Linked DNA regions of Homo sapiens: regions 2 and 3 are each linked to region 1. The links are contacts of gene promoters, found by promoter capture Hi-C in blood cells and fetal thymus (Javierre and others, 2016). All regions are on one chromosome and are shown on one strand. Each heading gives the region's core, a stretch centred on a gene start or on the middle of the fragment in contact. The rest is flanking DNA. Distances are from core to core; before and after follow the strand shown. Region 1 holds the start of FAIM (Fas apoptotic inhibitory molecule). Region 2 overlaps MRAS (muscle RAS oncogene homolog). Region 3 overlaps ARMC8 (armadillo repeat containing 8).

Evidence for each region. Contacts are between HindIII fragments. The CHiCAGO score rates a contact against its expected background, and 5 or more counts as called.
Region 2: a contact is called between a fragment that was not itself captured here and the fragment with the promoter of FAIM in region 1, in 3 of 17 cell types (M0 macrophages, M2 macrophages and M1 macrophages). The highest score is 8.2, in M0 macrophages.
Region 3: a fragment that was not itself captured here is called in contact with the fragment with the promoter of FAIM in region 1 in 8 of 17 cell types (M1 macrophages, M2 macrophages, naive CD8 T cells and 5 more); the score reaches 8.4 in M1 macrophages.

Annotation. Positions count from the first base shown.
Region 1 is chr3:138,607,415-138,610,238 of GRCh38, reverse strand. It overlaps FAIM (Fas apoptotic inhibitory molecule), which reads right to left and starts at 1,468. Exons shown (of 6, transcript NM_001033031.2): 1 at 1,302-1,468. RefSeq lists an enhancer at 731-820 and a silencer at 921-1,380. The HindIII fragment of the contact is 4,797 bases long and covers 1-2,824 here.
Region 2 is chr3:138,349,471-138,352,375 of GRCh38, reverse strand. All of the region lies in intron 1 of MRAS (muscle RAS oncogene homolog), which reads right to left. Among named protein-coding and RNA genes, the nearest start is that of MRAS, 2.3 kb to the right of the region's middle. The HindIII fragment of the contact is 1,360 bases long and covers 868-2,227 here.
Region 3 is chr3:138,221,767-138,224,466 of GRCh38, reverse strand. It overlaps ARMC8 (armadillo repeat containing 8), which reads right to left. Exons shown (of 22, transcript NM_001363941.2): 3 at 2,470-2,541; 4 at 936-1,078; 5 at 734-831. Among named protein-coding and RNA genes, the nearest start is that of ARMC8, 36 kb to the right of the region's middle. The HindIII fragment of the contact is 1,165 bases long and covers 801-1,965 here.

The DNA of each region.
Region 1 (2,824 bases), core at 219-2,718:
CCACCTGAATTTTGCCTTAACTTAGGTTTATTCTTACTGGGGACTGAAATGGTTCGTTCAAGATAAACCGAAGTCAGTTTAAAAATTACTAGATGATAGTAGTTACTAAGATGCTCATGGTTCCCTTTTCAGCAAAGGCCCCCAGGTAGGGCCAGCCAATAATGCAAGTCACACTCAAGTGTTGACATCTTCATCTCCGGGCCGGCCCCTTATGAAGTGAGGGGGGTCTCCAGTAAAATCACTCAGGAAGCTCCTCGAGCCAAGTATTCCCAAATGCTACTTACTGGAGGTACAAAAAGGAGAATAACTTTTCTGAGGGCCATTTCACAATCTATACCAGAAGCCTTGTGGTATAGACCGTGGATTCTATCTTGTTTTAGAACGAATCTTGTGCGATTCTTTCTACAGAAATGATCACGCTCAAAAACCCAGATACAACGATGCTCAATGAATTACTTTTTGCAATAACTAAAAACTGAAAACCACTTGTACGCTCACCATCAGGGAGAAACTACATTTAGTAAATCACAGTCCAAAGCCATGCCAAGAGTCAGGGATGGATGAGGTAGTCAACCTGACACACAGGAATGTACAGTCGAGAGAGAGAGAGAGAGAGAGAGAGAGTCGAGAGAGAGAGAGAGAGAGTCGAGAGAGAGAGAGTCGAGAGAGAGAGAGAGAGAGAGAGAGAGAGAGAGAGAGAGAGAGTTTCAGCACTTTATGATGCAGGTTCTGCAAAAACAAGCCCCGCTCATGTTACAAGGAAAAACCATCTGGAAGAATATACACCCTCATGTTAACGCAGCTTGTCTCTGGGGAGCAGCGGCACGGCTGCTTTGCTTGCTTCCTTGCTTTCTGTTCCACGTTTTCGACAGTGAGAAGTATTATCTTTAGAGGTCGCGAACAGGCCGGAGGAGGGTGCGGCAGGTCGCGGGGCAGGGCCTCGCTAGGCAGGGACGCCCCCGCACCGCCCCGGGCTGGCCCCGCGCCCCGCGCCCCGCCGCACCTCCACCTTTGCCGGCGGTGAGCGGGAGCCGCGTCCCGCCCCGAGGTCTGGGATCACCGGCGGGCCGGCTGGAAGCGTCCGGAACTCACCCAGCGTCTCACCCGCGCGGGTCTCACCGACCGCGCAAACACCGCCCGCCGCCGCCGCCCAGAGATGGCCGCCGCCGGCGCAGCAGGGCCGAGAGCGTGGGGACGCCGGGGGGCTGAGTGCAGGGGTTTCCAGGGTGCGGAGCGGGCGGGCCCGAGGCGTCCGGGCGGGCGCAGGCGCGACACCGACCCCACCCGGTCTGCTGCCTCACCTGTGCTCTGTGGGCCGCGGGAGGCTCTGGGGTAGGTTTCACCAAACAACCGGTTGGTTCCGACTCGGCTGCGTAGGCCGCGTGGCCTTGCTCCCCTGGCCGAGAAACAGGCGCAGCCGGCGCGGAGGTTGAAAGCTCTGCAGGCGCGAGTACCAAACGCGCCGACTGTTTGTCGCGCCTCTCAGGTCCCCTGGGGCGACCAGCGCAGGAGGCCACCCCTCCCGCCGCCACGGACCCAACCCTGGTCCTCTGCCTTAGCCGAAGGCCGCACCCTCCGCGCATAGGCCTTCCTCAGCCCCAACCCAGGACATCACCATGTCCCGCAGTGCGTCCAGTCTTCCTGCCAGCAAGTGTGGGTAGGAGCCGGCCGCTGGCCCCGCTCTGGGCTAGACGGTGGGGACATACTGGCGGGCAAAAACAGCCCTGTGCCTGCTCTGCAGCTATGGGGAAGGAATATCTGTTCATGGCAGCAATAGCATTCGCTCCTTAAAACCTCTTTATGAGTCTCATTCCTTTTTTAAAGACCCAAACTACTTAAGGTGGGCATGAAGCCCCCATGTGTGATCTAGCCTCTGCCTGCTTGGCTTCATTTAGGTCCTTAAAGGATGCAGGTTTCTTCTCGCCCAGGGCCTCTGCAAATGCTCTTCTCTCTGCCTGGACACTCCTCACCTCTTCCCTATTGTGAGAGTTCTTCATATATCATTTCTTAGATTACACTATCCTGGCCCATAAGACTTGCAGCATTGCTGGGTGTGGTGGCTCATACCTGTAATCACGGCATTTTGGGAGGCAGAGTGGCGGATCTCTTGAGTCCAGGAGTTCAAGACCAGCCTGGGCAACATGGTAAAAAAAAAAAAAAAGAGAGAGAGAGAATGAGAAAGAAGAAAAGAAAATAATTAGCGGCTCAGGCCTGTAATCCTAGCTACTTGGGACGCTGAGGTGGGAGAATTGCTTGGGCCCTGAAGGGAGGTAGAGGCTGCAGAGAGCTGTGATTGCACCACTACACTCCAGCCTGGGCAACAGAGCGAGACCCTGTTTCATTAAAAAAAACACACACAAAAAGAAACAGCCGGGCTCAGTGGCTCACGCCTGTAATCCCAGCACTTTGGGATGCTGAGGCAGGCATGGCAAAACCCCGTCACTACTGAAAATATAAAACTTAGAGGGGCGTGGTGGTGCATGCCTGTAGTCCCAACTACTTGGGAGGCTGAGGCAGGAGAATCGCTTCAACCTGGGAGGTGGAGGTTGGAGTGAGCTGAGATTGAGCCACTGCACTCCAGCCTGGGCGAAGAGCAAGACTCTGTCTCAAAAAAAAAAAAAAAAAAAAACAGCCGGGCACAGTGGCTTACACCTGTAATCCCAGCACTCTGGGAGGCCAGGTGCGGATTGCCTGAGGTCAGAAGTTTGAGACCAGCCTGGCCAACGTGGTGAAACCCTAGCTCTACTAAAAATACAAAAATTAGCCGGGCGTGGTGGCATGCGTCTGTAATCCCAGCTACTCAGGAGGCTGAGGCAGGAGAATC
Region 2 (2,905 bases), core at 298-2,797, 260 kb after region 1:
TTAGATCATGCTGGCCAGCTAAATGGCCCTAGGGGCTCAGTGCTGGGGGCCAGGGCAAGGAGGGCCAGGGTGGAGTCTCTGGGAATAGGTGGAACCAACTGCATCACACAGGTAGCGGGAATGCTTCCTAGAGAACAAGAGATGGGGCACCATTGAATGCATGGCGAGTGCAGCGTGGTCTCCACCTCAGCCTGAACCTCATCACCTCTGCGGAAGCATGAGGCAGTGCCAGCACTGCCCTCTTTGTCAGACCCACTGGCTGACTGCACAGACTTCAACTCACAGGCTGGGCAATGACAACTGTCCCACTCTATTTGTACTCTTGGCCCCCATCTCTGCCCTCTCACACTGCACTGGAATGGCATGCTGACTTGGCTGCACAATGGGCTTACAGAATAGGTCTGCCATGAACATTAGAGAAGTCACGTGCCTTTAGATCAGAGATGGCTAAACTGGGATCCAGGGCTGGTTTTCAGAGATCCATGAATCCCCTGAATTATATGTCCAACTTTGTACATCAACGTTCCCTGGGCTTCTCATCAACATATTAAAGAGGCTGTGACTCAAGAAGACAAAACCTATTACTCTGAACTCCAGACACTCAGCCTTTATGGCTACCTGTCCCATGCAGGAACTTGCTGGAAGTGGCACTGATATCCCATTCCTGTGTACAGAGACCTTCCAAGAGCAGAGAGCATCTTTGGGAGATCTGAGCTCTGCTTAATCTTACTTACTGTTATTTGGGTTTTGTTACTTGCAGCCAAAGCATCCCCATTGATTCAGTACTACAGGGCTCAGAGGCATGATCTAAGACTTAGGAGGGCTGACAGGGACTCAGAGTCCAGCAAGAAAATTCCTCTTAAAGCTTGAATTCTCTGCTGAGTCCCTAGACAATGGGTACCTGCCAGGTGTCCCAGGTCTCAGGGAACTCCTCCAGCTCCTTTTTTACCTGTCTCCAGATAAAGGTGACTGTACCTTCTATGCCTGCCCAGGGCCTGGCAGGTACAGAGCCTCTGGAACTCAATGCACATCCTCTGGACACTTAAGAACATTCCAGCATTGCACAAGAATGCATTCCCATTCAGTTCACATGAGTATGCTTGTACAAACTACACAATGCTCATGAGCAGGTATGTTTTTCAATTGCTTTCAGGGAGACACACTCTGTTTGGGGGCATTTCATTGGCAGAACAGATTACAATGGTTAAATCTGATGTGAAATATATTATGGAAGCCACATTTCCCTGAGAACTCACTAGATCCAGGAGGCTGGTCAACATGTGATTCTGACTGAGGTTAGGACCAGTCATCCCAGGAGCCTAATTTATCAGAGGCCAATAGTCATTCCTGGTTCCAGGTGATCACTAGAGCTTAGGAACCAAACCAACCCCAAGGGTAACTGACTTGTCACTTTTTTTTTTTTTTTTTTTTTTGAGACAGGGTCTTGCTCTGTCACCCAAGCTGGAGTGCAGTGGCGTGATCATGGCTCACTCCAACCTCTGCCTTCTGGGCTTAAGCAATCCTCCCACCTCAGCCTCCCAAGTAGCTAAGACTACAGGTGCATGCCACCAGGCCCAGCTAATTTTTGTAGAGACGGAGTTTCACCATGTTGCCCTGGCTGGACTTGTCACTTTATAAGTAGCTCAGACGAACTGAGTATGAAATACCAGTGGCTAGAGCTAATAATAACATAAAAGTTAAACCTGTCATAAAGTGTCTTATGTAGGTGAAAACAGAGGTGGAAATTAGCAACTGTCTTATGGAGGAGCGAAGCTGACAACGCTGGAGACAATCGCTTGCTTCACCAAAGGGCCTTGACTACCGCCTACCCCAGTCCCGCCCCCAGCTTTAGGAAATGCCGAGGTCACATCTAGGGGGTCAGTTTCCACCAGAGCACGAGGCTTGCCCAACACCTCCCTCCCCAGAGGCTGGCAGACCTCAAAAACCCCAGAGCATGAAAGCCCCATGCCTCCCACCCCGGCAGAAAAAGGACAAACTACACCATAAACTACAGAGAGAAGCTAACTGGCTGCTGGGCAGTGTGAACAGACCTAAGGGTGAAAACCATTGCCCGAAACATTTTCAGCCCCACTCAGCAGGGACATGTGATTTACAGGAAATTAGGAGGTTTACAAAATGTTAGCAGCTCAAGTTTCTTCCCCGGGAAAAGAAGCAGGAGAAGCTCTAAGAACCGTATCCGAGAAAGTGCTTTGTTCACTGCTAAGCTTCTGACACGAGTCAGTTATTAATACCCACAGCTCACTGCCTCACACTTCAACCCACCAGTGAATGTCTATAGTGAATAATTATAAAACAATATATTACAAAACTCTAACACAGGCTGCACCAGAGCCTTCCGAAGCCCAGGACAGCCACGTGGCCAAAAGCATGGACTTCAGATATGATCTTGGGCAAGCTGTTGGCTCTTTTTCACCCCAGTTCCTCCATCCTTTACAATAAACAAAATCCTTCTGGAGGTGTCTTGTCAAGAGGTGTCTTGTCAAATGATGAGCAAATCCACTTCAAGTGCCTGGTCTTTGGAAGCCCTGTTGGTTGCTGTTATTACAGTGGAGTTTCAGAGCTCTTAAAGTCATATCTCCATCTTACTTCTGCTGCCAGACAAACCTCTGGAGGCCACGATTCCGAGCCTTGTCAGCCACCCTCTCTGGTCAGGTCCAGGACAGAGTGAGTCCTAGAGGAGCAAGGCCAGGGAGGTTCCACACCATCAGGGGCCATTGGGGAGTAGGGGCAATGGCAGAGCTCTATGATCAAGGCCCCAGTGGCCTTGATGGACTCTGTCCACCTCTCCAGACTCCACTTTGCCCCAGGCCAGAACAGACCTCAGCTCTAGCCAGAGTCTAACTGGGTGTCCAGTGTATACGCTGCGGCCAGCCAGACATTAACT
Region 3 (2,700 bases), core at 134-2,633, 390 kb after region 1:
AGACTTTTATCATTTTTTATTTTTAGTGAGAGGATCTCATTCTGTCACCTAGGCTGAGGTGCAGGGGCACCATCATAGCTTAGTATAACCTCAAACTCCTAGGCTCAAGCAATCCTTCCACTGCAGTCTCATGAGCTAGGACTATAGGCATGAGCCATTGCACCAGGCTAATTTATTTTTATTTTTTTCTTGTAGAGATGGAGTCTTGTTGTCGGGCGCAGTGGCTCACACCTGTAATCCCAGCACTTTGGGAGGCCGAGGCGGGTGGATCACAAGGTCAGGAGTTCAAGACCAGCCTGGCCAAGATGGTGAAACCCTATCTCTCCTAAAAATACAAAAAATTAGCCGGGTGTGGTGGCACGCGCCTGTAATCCAAGCTACTCCAGACGCTGAGGCAGAGAAATGCTTAAACCTGGCAGGGTGAAGGTTGCAGTGAGCCGAGATCGCGCCACTGCACTCTAGCCTGGGTGACAGAGCAAGACTCCACCTCAAAAAAAAAAAAAAAAAAAGAGATGGAGTCTTGTTATGTCACTCTGGTTGATCTTGAACTCCTGGCCTCAAGCAATCCTCCCACCTCAGCCTCCCAAAGCACTGGGATTACTGGTGTGAGCCACCATGACCAACTGAGACTTTTTTACATAACACAGTTATGATGAGTCTGAAGATGCTAAGCAAATTAGGAGTAGGCTGTTGGTGAAATGTAACTAATGTCTCAAATACATCTAAAACTCACTGTATACAGTAGCTCCTCTGGAGTGACAGGACTGGTGAAGATGGTACGCAGGCATCGGAGGCAAGCTTCAATAAACTTCAGGTCTGGGGACAGTAGTCCTATTAACAGAAATGAGATTTAGGACTAATCCTTTCAACCAGTATTTAAAGCACTGCAAACTGATTCTTAACCTTAATTGAGCAAAAATGGCTTCCCTACATACCTTGCAATAAGGCAGGGATAATATGGCAGTCCAGTAGAGACTTGACATTGTTTTCAGTACCCATAGCAAGACTTCCCAACACCACTGCACATTCAGTTTTCAGCTCTGTGCTTGAGGTTTCTTGCTGAAGCAAGTACAACAATCTAAAAAGAAGGAACTTAATAAACGAAGAGACTAAAAAATTTAAACAAGACTCAATGTGACCAAAAAAGGCTGTGCAGTCCACATACTAAAAATATGGTTGGCTGAGTTTATATGAATCCAATGGTCATTTGTTTATCTCATCTGCTAATTAAAGAAACATCTGGAAAAAAAATCTAGAAGAGGTTTTGAAAAAAAGAACTATCATATTCTTAGAGTTTATAAAAAGTGTAAATCTGAAAGTTGTCCACAGATAGTCTCTGTAGAAACAGCGTCATCAGAGTCCATGTCATCTACCACTTCCTGCTGGGTCTCCAAAATATGAAGACTCTCAAATGCCATGTGCTGCCAGATCTTAAACTCAAACTAGAAATGCTACTGCTCTGAATCCAGAGCAGTGGTGCAGTTTGTAGATATCGAGCCTATAGGGAATATTCAGAGCCCTTGTGCAGCTCCTCAAGCAAAGGTAGTTTCTTCTTTCTCCAGCTCTCTCATTTGGAAAAGGAAGAGATCCTCTCATTTCCACTCCAGCCCAGCTTGCCAAACAAATACTCCCCAAACCCTAACCTTCCTCCACTTATAACCATCTACCTTATGTTCTAAGACAGGACCCTCATGCTCCATAAAGCACTATTTATATATACCAAACATAAATCCCCTAAGAAAGGCTGCTGACAGCTTTATAGTTACTAAAGTATATGTTTGAGGTTGGTGAGTTAAAACACTTAAACCATTAATTCTGTATCAAAACCAGAAAATAAGGAGAAAAAAACAAAATAATAAATAATTCTGAATGAAAAGCTAATAGCAATTGCACAGAAAACTTAGCTCTGAGGAGCAAAAGTAAAGAGGAAGTTATGTAACTGTCATTGCCTGCCTAAAGGAAGCTTATTAGGTCATCAAAAGAAGAAATTAAACTTCCTAAACTTCTTACGTTAACTTAAAAAACAGCAAGTTGTAAAAATCAGAAGTTAAAAAATGAAACTGGATTAAAAATCAAGCAGGGTTTTTTTCCTTTAAATTCAAAAAGGTCTTAAGGCTCCTAATAAATTACCCACTCACACAAAAAACTGCCAAGGCTCTAAGGAAATGGAGAAGAAAGTATCAGGCTGTTGTACATTGCATATGTACTTTACGAACCCTTTTGTCATCAGGTCAAAGGTCTTCCTGAGTTTCCAAAATGTATTAACACATTCACTTCTTACTACATTCTCTGTTACTTTATAATTTTTTTCCTTAAAGATAGTTTAAATACTTACATTTATTTTTAAAAATAGGATTTATTTTAAGAATTAGACAGACAATACAGGAAAAATGGGTTCTATAATTGAGAGTAAGAAATACATTAGAAACTAGTATGAATGGCAAGAAAGGGGTGAGACAGCAAACATACCTTGGAACAGCTCCTAAAACAATGAGATTGGCTTTCTGCTTGTTGTTTCCAATTACAGCATTTTTCATGTCTCTGAATTAAGGGGAAGAAAAAATAAAGTATGTTGAGACAGCACTGAAGAAAAATCAAAGATCATTCTACTTCATTATGCAATATCTTAGATTTGACAAAGTAAAAGCACTAACCTTTTTTCACCTAAAGTACTAATGAAGGGATAGAGATAGGTGCAGA